Regions from separate parts of the Homo sapiens genome. Here regions 1 and 2 are each linked to region 3. Evidence: promoter capture Hi-C in human tissues and cell types (Jung and others, 2019). All regions are on one chromosome and are shown on one strand. Each heading gives the region's core, a stretch centred on a gene start or on the middle of the fragment in contact. The rest is flanking DNA. Distances are from core to core; before and after follow the strand shown. Region 1 overlaps NFYC (nuclear transcription factor Y subunit gamma). Region 2 overlaps SMAP2 (small ArfGAP2). Region 3 holds the start of ZNF684 (zinc finger protein 684).

Region 1 (2,700 bases), core at 71-2,570, 190 kb after region 3:
GTTTCCCAGGCTGATCTTGAACTCCTGGGCTCAAGCGATCCTCCTGCTTTGGCTTCCCAAAGTGCTGAGATTACAGGCATGAGCCACCGTTCCCAGCCCAAGGAGACATATTCTAAGAATTGAAGGCCGGGCGCGGTGGCTCATGCCTGTAATCCCAGCACTTTGGGAGGCCAAGGTGGGCGGATCAGGAGGTCAGGAGATGGAGACCATCCTGGCTAACACGGTGAAACCCTGTCTCTACTAAAAATACAAAAAAGTTAGCCAGGCGTGGTGGTGGGCACCTGTGGTCCCAGCTACTTGGGAGGCTGAGGCAGGAGAATGGTGTGGACCCGGGAGGCGAAGCTTGCAGTGAGCCAAGATCATGCTACTGCATTCCAGCCTGGGTGACAGAGTGAGATTCCATCCCAAAAAATATATATAAATAAATAATTAATTTAAAAAAAGAATTTAAATGTTTTTGGATTAGTGTGGAGAGAAAACCTAGTATAGCTATTGATCATTGACACACCCAAGGATTTAAATTTGGAACGTTCCCATGTTCAGCTTGAATTCTTTGCTTTTTTGGAACTAGTACATTTGTTCCAAATTTAATAGTTTAAAGGGCTTAAAAATTATTTCATGTTTATAAAAGAGATAGGAGAACATCTTTCTCTATTTTAATATGTATTTCCATGCATCTGAAACTAGGCTTTTTAAAGAAATATGTCAAAAGCAAAGTAAGTCTAAATTATAGAGAAAAAGAAGCTAGTTGGTCTTTAGGCTCGGTACTGTATCTGGGACTCTTCAGACCAGTAGTTGGTGTCTTGTCTAGCTTCAGGCAGCCATGATGATATGATGCCATCTGGCATTTGTATGAAGCTTGCTATTTTTTGAGGCCTTCTAACATGTGTTTTACCATTTGTGTGTTTCAGCTGCTCTGTGGGATGTTGCTTTAGATGAATAGAGAAGTTTCTAAGAAGTTAAGAGATTTGCTCAAGATCACAGTTCGCCAGAGAGCTAAGAACCCCCAGGTCCAATACATTTTATTTATTTATGTATTTACCTCGTGCTTTAGTGCCCCCAACTGTTCGCAGCTGAGTATTCATAGGTGCTGCTAACCTGCCTAGAGACATGCAAAGGGGAAGGATAAAACAGAAAAGAAAAAAGAGTGACAGCTTAAACAGTGCAAAAAGTGGGAAAGAGCAAGTTATAATAAATCAAGACAGAATTTTAGAGCTTTTGCATTTTGACTCATCATTTATTGTATTGTGATCTTGAGCAAGTAATTTGATATTCAACCCTCAACCTTATCTGTAAAATTGGAATAATATTGGTAAATTTATCACTGAGCTAAGTAAGGGTCAATTGAGGATGATGTATGTGGCATGTATTTTATGAACTCTGAAGCCCGTAAGTTGGCATCTATGAAACATTCTTCAGAATCACACTTCTTCCCTCTGCTAGACACACAAACACAGGATACTGCCAGAAACTGGGCAAGAGGCTGTTTGTGAATCTCAGAAGGCACCCGGTAAGAAAATGATGCTTTGTTTTAGAATACAACTTAACTTAGGCTACAGGCACTCTTTCTGTCTCTAGCTCATGTCACAATTCCTTTTCGGGATTGAGGCCTGAAAAACCAGTTACTCACCATTCTTCCTACAAGGATTTATTTACTCGTTAGGCTGGAGGGTCAGAGAGACTAACAGATACTTCTGTGGGGCAGAGGGGGTCTGGCCCAGCTTACTTCTAATTGAGGATGAACAGGTGAGGGAGGCAGGGGAGCTAAGTAACAGTTGTGTGATCTAGGACCAGCTTCTCAACTTCTAGTGTCAGTTTCCCCATCAGTAAATCAGGGATAAATAAAACACCTAACAGTGCTTTAAAACAAGATCAGAATATTATCTGAAACTTTTTCTTTTCTTTTCTTTTTTTTTTGAGACAGGATCTTGCTCTGCTGTTCCTGCTCAGGCTGGAGTGCAGTGGCGCAATCATGGCTCACTGCAGGCTTGACCACCCAGGCTCAAGCAGTCCTCCCGCCTCAGCCTCGTGAGTAGCTGGGACTACAGGTGTGGGCCACTACACCTGGCTAGTTTTTTATTTTTTATTTTCTATTGAGATGGGGGTCTCACTATGTTGCCCAGGCTGATCTCGAGCTCTTGGGTTCAAGTGATCCTCCCGCCTTGGCCTCCCAGAGTGCTAGGATTAGAGGCATGAGCTACCATGCCTGGCTGAACCTTTTTCCTTAAAGGGCCAGATATTTTAGGCTTTGTGGCTGTATGATTTTTGTTGTAACTCTTCAACTCTACTGTTTAGCATGAACAGACAATATAAACTAATTAGGGGCTGGACATGGTGGCTCACGCCTGTAATCCCAGCGTTTTGGGAGGCCGAGGTGGGCAGATCACTTAAGGTCAGGAGTTCAAGACCAACCTGGTCAACATGGTGAAACCCGTCTCTTCAAAAATACAAAAATTAGCTGGGTGTGATGGCGGGTGCCTATAATCCCAGCTGCTTGGGAGGCTGAGGTGGGAGAATCGCTTGAACCCGGGAGGTGGAGGTTGCAGTGAGCCGAGATCGTGCCATTGTACTCCAGCCTGGATGACAGACTGAGGCTCCGTCTAAAAGTAAATGAATAAATAAATAAATAATTAGGGTTGATGTCTTCCAGTGAAACTGTTTCTAAAAACAGGCTGTAGGCCAGATGTGGCCTATGAGCTG
Region 2 (2,700 bases), core at 94-2,593, 140 kb before region 3:
ACCCACATGGAGTCTTCAAGCCAAACAATTGTTTGTACTGAGATAGTCTCACTGTTTGGCTCCTAATGAAATAATCTCTTTCCTGCCCTCAATGAAAGCAGCTATTTTTTGTGTCCTCCCTCCCCTATTCAGAGAAGCCATGTCTCATCCACCACTCTTCCAGCTTATTCATAAATGCTTTAAGCAGGGTCTTTGTGTAAAGGAAATTGGCTGGAGCTGAAATATCATAGGCTAACCAGGAGACAAGGAGCATTAAGGACACCCTTTTCCTTGACTTTCTATTTAGGGTATTTAAATTACCTTTCTGTGATTTTCTGTAATAAGCAATCTAAAACTTAAATCCACATAAGCAAAATAGTCATACTAGGTTTTTAAAAAGTATACTAAATTAGGCCGGGCTCAGTGGCTCATGCCTGTAATCGCAGCACGTTGGGAGGCCGAGGCAGGTGCATCACTAGGTCAGGAGATCGAGACCATCCTGACTAACATGGTGAAACCCCGCTGTCTCTACTAAAGACACAAAAAATTAGCCAGGCGTGGTGGCATGCACCTGTAGTCCCAGGTATTCGGGAAGCTGAGGCAGGGGAATAGCTTGAACCCGGGAGGCGGAGGTTGCAGTGAGCCAAGATCACACCACTGCACTCCAGCCTGGGTGACAGAGCGTGAATCCATCTCAAAAAAAAAAAAAGTATACTAAATTAGTATAATTTTATTGTTGTTGTTACCTAAAGGAGCTCTCAAAAATAAAAGCTGGCCAGGCGTGGTAGCACATGCCTGTAGTCCCAGCTACTCAAGAAGCTGAGGTGGGAGGATTGCTTGAGCATAGGAGATTGAGGCTGCACTGCACTCTAGCTTGGGCAACAAAGCAACAAACCCTATCTTAGAAGAACAAACAAAAAACCCAACAACAGAACAACCACAAATGAGTGAGTGCAGCAGGAGAGGCAGCAGAGCGCCGTGGGAGTTGGAATAGGAAGGAGAAAAGGCTTCATGGGGAAAGTGGGCAGAGCAAGATTTGCACAAAAAGATGTTTTGCAAATAGAGGAAATAGGCCCTGTAAAGCTATTTGTGAGAGACTGTAAGTTGATCAACAAAGTGTAAGTAGTTCTTCTAACTTTTTTTTTTTTTTTTTTTTTTGTGACAGAGTCTTGCTCTGTCGCCCAGGCTGGAGTACAGTGGCTCAATCTTGGCTCACTGCAACCTCCACCTCCCAGGTTCAAGCGATTCCCCTGCCTCAGCCTCCTGAATAGTTAGTATTACAGGCGTGAGCCACAATGCCTGGCTAATTTTTGTATTTTTAGTAGAGATGGGGTTTCAGCATGTTGGCCAGGCTGGTCTTGAACCCCTGACCTCAGGTGATCCACCGGCCTTAGCATCCCAAAGTGCTGGGATTAAGGCGTGAGGCACCGCGCCCGGCCACTTCTAACCTTTTTAAGGAGTATTTGCGTGAACAGAATCAATGAGTTTCTTCAAATTAACTTCTGACAATAATCTAAATGGTCTCCATTTTCTGATTCACCCTTTTTTCCAATTCCAAGTTGCCATTATCCATGTAATTGGCTCTAAAGAGAGCAAGGAAATCTATCTTCTCCAGGAGTTTCAGTCATAGATTTTTAGCTGGCTCTCTTTATCATTTGCAACTGAGTTCATTCATATGCTTGTTTTCAAGAATTTTTTCCTTTAGTTCCAGAACTCTTTGCTTCCATCCTATGGTTTCTTGGGAGGACAGTTCTAAGCTTTCTTAAGATAAGTGTTTCAATCACACCATCTACCATTTCCCTCAGAAGTTGTTCTCCTCTTATGCGGTGTGTTTAGGTGTTTGGGGCGCCAATCACTAGGGATTGGAAGGATTTTGATGAATCTTCAAGTAACCATGTCTTGAAGGTTAGCCATCATCAGTTCACTCCATGAAATGAAAACTTACGGGGATCCACTTTTGCTCTTTTTTGAAGAAGTCTATTGTCCTCAAAGGAAGAGGTGGACCTGTTCAGATTTTTAAGTTTTATCTTATTCAGTGTTTGTAGCATCAAGGGACTGGCCTCTAACGGAAGCAACTGGGGGCTTCATTGGCTTATGCAATCAGTCTCATCTCACTGACTTTACAAGGTTCTTCAATACTGGCAGAAAATCTCTTGGCTAGCTCTTTCTCCCTCCTTAAAATATGTTGGCTCTTTACTATAAAAACAATCATAGCAGCACATACCAGAATCTCCTAGGGAAACCCCCAAAGACTTGGGCCTTGTCTCAGCTCTCAGACACTACCACCAAGAGCACTGCATAGCTTTCCCAGGACCAACTGGAAAGAATTCTTTTTTACGACGATGTAATTGACAATGAAAATTGTATATGTTTACAGTATACAATGTGGTGTTTTGATATATGTGTACATTGATTTTTGTGGCAGTCAGGAGGTCCTCTAGTTGGAACAGAGACTCACCACACCCAAGAGTCCCTCTGTCTGTATCCCATCCCCAAATCAGAAAAAGGCCTGTGCGTCTCTGTGGGTAGTATTCACTCTCTCAGATTCCTCTGTGAGTCAGGAACATGACAAGTGGCATCTATATACACAGTTTTAAGAGGAAGTGATGTCACTCTTGGTGTATAGAAGTGAGAAGAGGAGTAATGAGAATTAAAGACCCAGATCACAGGAGAATTTAAGCCATACTTAGAAGTTTGGAGTTCAGTTGATGGTGGGGGGTC
Region 3 (2,700 bases), core at 194-2,693:
AATTGTGTATTTCCCGCCTCTACTGGATCTTTTGTTTTATTTTATTAACTAATTCATTTATTTGAGACAGAGCCTCGCTCTGTCGCCCAGGCTGGAGTGCAGTGGTGTGATCTCGGCTCACTGCAACCTCTGCCTCCCGGGTTCAAGTGATTCTCCCGCCTCAGCCTCCCAGGTAGCTGGGTTTACAGGCGTCTGCCACCACGCCCGGCTAATTTTTGTATTTTTAGTAGAGACGGGGTTTCACCACGTTGGCCAGGCTGGTCTCCAACTCCTGACCTCAGGTGATCTGCCCACCTAAGCTTCCCAAAGTGCTGGGATTACAGGCGTGAGCCACTGCGCCCAGCCTAGATCCTTTTAATTAGTACATAAACTTACTATAATTTCTTCCATCTTTTTTATTTTATTTTTTTGAGACAGAGACTAGCTCTGTCGCCCATGCTGCAGTGCAGTGGCGGGATCACGGCTCACTGCAGTCTCTACTGTCTGGGCTCAAGCGATCCTCCCATCTCAGCCTCTCAAGTAGTTGGGACTTCAGGCGGGTGCCATGCCAGGCTAGTTTTTTATTTTTTGTAGAGATGAGGGTCTCACTATGTTGCCTAGGCAGTTTCAGACTCCTGGGCTCAACCAATCCTCCCACTTTGGCCTCCTGAAATGTTAGGATTACAGGCATAAGCCACCACACTCAGCCCCATCTTTGAATTAAAAAAAAAAAAAAAATTAGAACGTGGAAAAACGCAACAACAAAAGATTAACAAAATCCCTATCCCATGATAGCCTTATTTTTCTGCTCACCTTAAAAACAAAACTTCTTAAAAGTATTGCGTATATTTGCTTTCTCCATTTCCTCTCCTCCCATCCTTCCCTCCAACTCCTATCAAATTTTCATCAGACTTTATCAAACTTCCACCACTGCCAAAATGGCGTTTCAACATCACTGGTGACCATTGCTACAGTGGCCCATTCTTAATTCTCATTTTACTTGACCTATGAGCAACATTTGAGACAATGGGTCACTCCCTTCTTGAAACACTTCCTTCCCTTGGTTTTGCAGATCTAAACTCTCCTACTTTTCCATCTACTTCATGGATTATTCCTTCTCAGTCTTCTTTGTTGGATCCTCTTCACCTCTCCGACTTAACCTGGTGCATTGCTAGAAGAAACCCTGCTGAGTAAGAGCAAATTGTTTTTAGCATACCGCCGATTTTACTTTCCAGTATTTAAAAATGCTGTGTATCCTTTTAAATGAAAACGACTTAAAAAGCGTGGCTCTCAGGCTAGCAATAGAGATACCAACCCGGGAATCTCCGCACCACCCCCCAAGAGGAAGCAGCGTCTGACGTCTTCCGGAAACGAGCTCCACTGGCCTTATGGGAAATGTGGTCTCCGACGGATGGCCTACACCCGGGAGGAGTCCAGGAACTCTAGGTGGACAGTTACTTCCGCACACGCGTAGTAGGACGGTAGCCGGTATTCAATCTTCAAATCAGCGCCGCGGGAAGTGCGGGCGGGTGTTGCTCCCCTGTCTCTGGACGACGCTGTGACTGATCCCAGGCTTGGAGCCGGAGCTGCGAGCGAGGCAGTGAAAGGGTGGCAGGTATGGCTTTGCTGGACTCGGAGGACGTAAGAGAAAGGCGGGGACTGGCTTCTAGGTTTACCCTACCGAAGATAAAACTTTAGTCTCCAAGCGCAGTGACTTCAGGTTTGGATATGTGGGTCCTGTTCAACTCGAGTAGCTGAGAGAAAGCAAGAGTTGGGCTCCGACTGGCACTGGGTAGATGTCCAGGGCTCTGGTGGGACTGGGAGAGGCTCAATTTGCATTCCTGCTCTTGTAGGTCAAGGTCACTATGTAGGAGTCTGTTCATCTAACTGTACCTTTCCTGGTTCCAAGAGCATAGTTGGCCCGACTGGAGCCTGCGACAATTTTAAGCCGTGTCAAGGGATCCAGTGGAAACTGTAAGCTATTTCAAGGGATCCAGGAAGAAAGCATTCTTGAGAAACTGCTATGGATTAGAAGGGTATTCTCAGCAATCATTTGAAGTAAATGCTATTACCATTTTGCATATGAGTTAACTGAAGCTGAAAGGTGAAATTACTTGCCTGGACTCACACAGCTTAGTAAGTGGAAGAACTGAGATTCAAACTCAGATACATTTTCTCCAAATTTCTTTTTTTTTTTTTTTACAGTATAGCATTCCTGCATAAAACAGAGTTGGGTTTATTCTCCTGAAATGTTTGAGCAATGAATGCTGAGTAAATTTCGATTTGTAGTCATTTTGTAGAGTCTCTTGGTGTATCTGCAGATCTTCCAGTGCAGACTGTGTAAATGAAGATGTGAGTCCCCGGTTTGCCCATTATACCCTTTCTAGAGCCCCAGCAGTTCTAAGCTCATAGGAGATGGCGAGTTTCTACAGAGAGAAACATTTGGAGTTTAAACTGAAGGATCCAGCTTAACAAAAAAAAAATAAAAAAAAGTGTTCCTGGGTCCCTGAATCCAGCCTTCTCAAGAAAGCCCAACCTAATTTGCAATCTCTTATCCCAGCGTCAGAGTAGAAACCAGAGAATCACAGGAAGGAATCATTTTTAGACTTACGGAGCTTCAGAGACCAAGCTTTTAAGTGAGTCAACTCATTCATTATTTCTTCAGGATAAATTTCTGGGAGGAAAAAAAATAACTGTTTCAAGAGGAACCACTTGGTGCTA

What was found. Contacts are between HindIII fragments. The study calls those that stand out against the background at their distance.
Region 1: a fragment that was not itself captured here is called in contact with the fragment with the promoter of ZNF684 in region 3 in 1 of the 25 tissues and cell types used here (H1 embryonic stem cells).
Region 2: a fragment that was not itself captured here is called in contact with the fragment with the promoter of ZNF684 in region 3 in 1 of the 25 tissues and cell types used here (liver).

The regions. Positions count from the first base shown.
Region 1 is chr1:40,721,765-40,724,464 of GRCh38, forward strand. The region is part of intron 1 of NFYC (nuclear transcription factor Y subunit gamma); the gene reads left to right. Among named protein-coding and RNA genes, the nearest start is that of NFYC-AS1, 31 kb to the left of the region's middle. The HindIII fragment of the contact is 5,530 bases long and covers 1-2,700 here.
Region 2 is chr1:40,392,427-40,395,126 of GRCh38, forward strand. All of the region lies in intron 1 of SMAP2 (small ArfGAP2), which reads left to right. Among named protein-coding and RNA genes, the nearest start is that of SMAP2, 20 kb to the left of the region's middle. The HindIII fragment of the contact is 3,132 bases long and covers 1-2,700 here.
Region 3 is chr1:40,530,194-40,532,893 of GRCh38, forward strand. ZNF684 (zinc finger protein 684) reads left to right here and starts at 1,444. Exons shown (of 5, transcript NM_152373.4): 1 at 1,444-1,594. It overlaps LOC124904149 (a long non-coding RNA gene), which reads right to left and starts at 1,353. Exons shown (of 2, transcript XR_007066022.1): 1 at 1,295-1,353; 2 at 385-1,162. RefSeq lists an enhancer at 1,244-1,538. The HindIII fragment of the contact is 10,888 bases long and covers 1-2,700 here.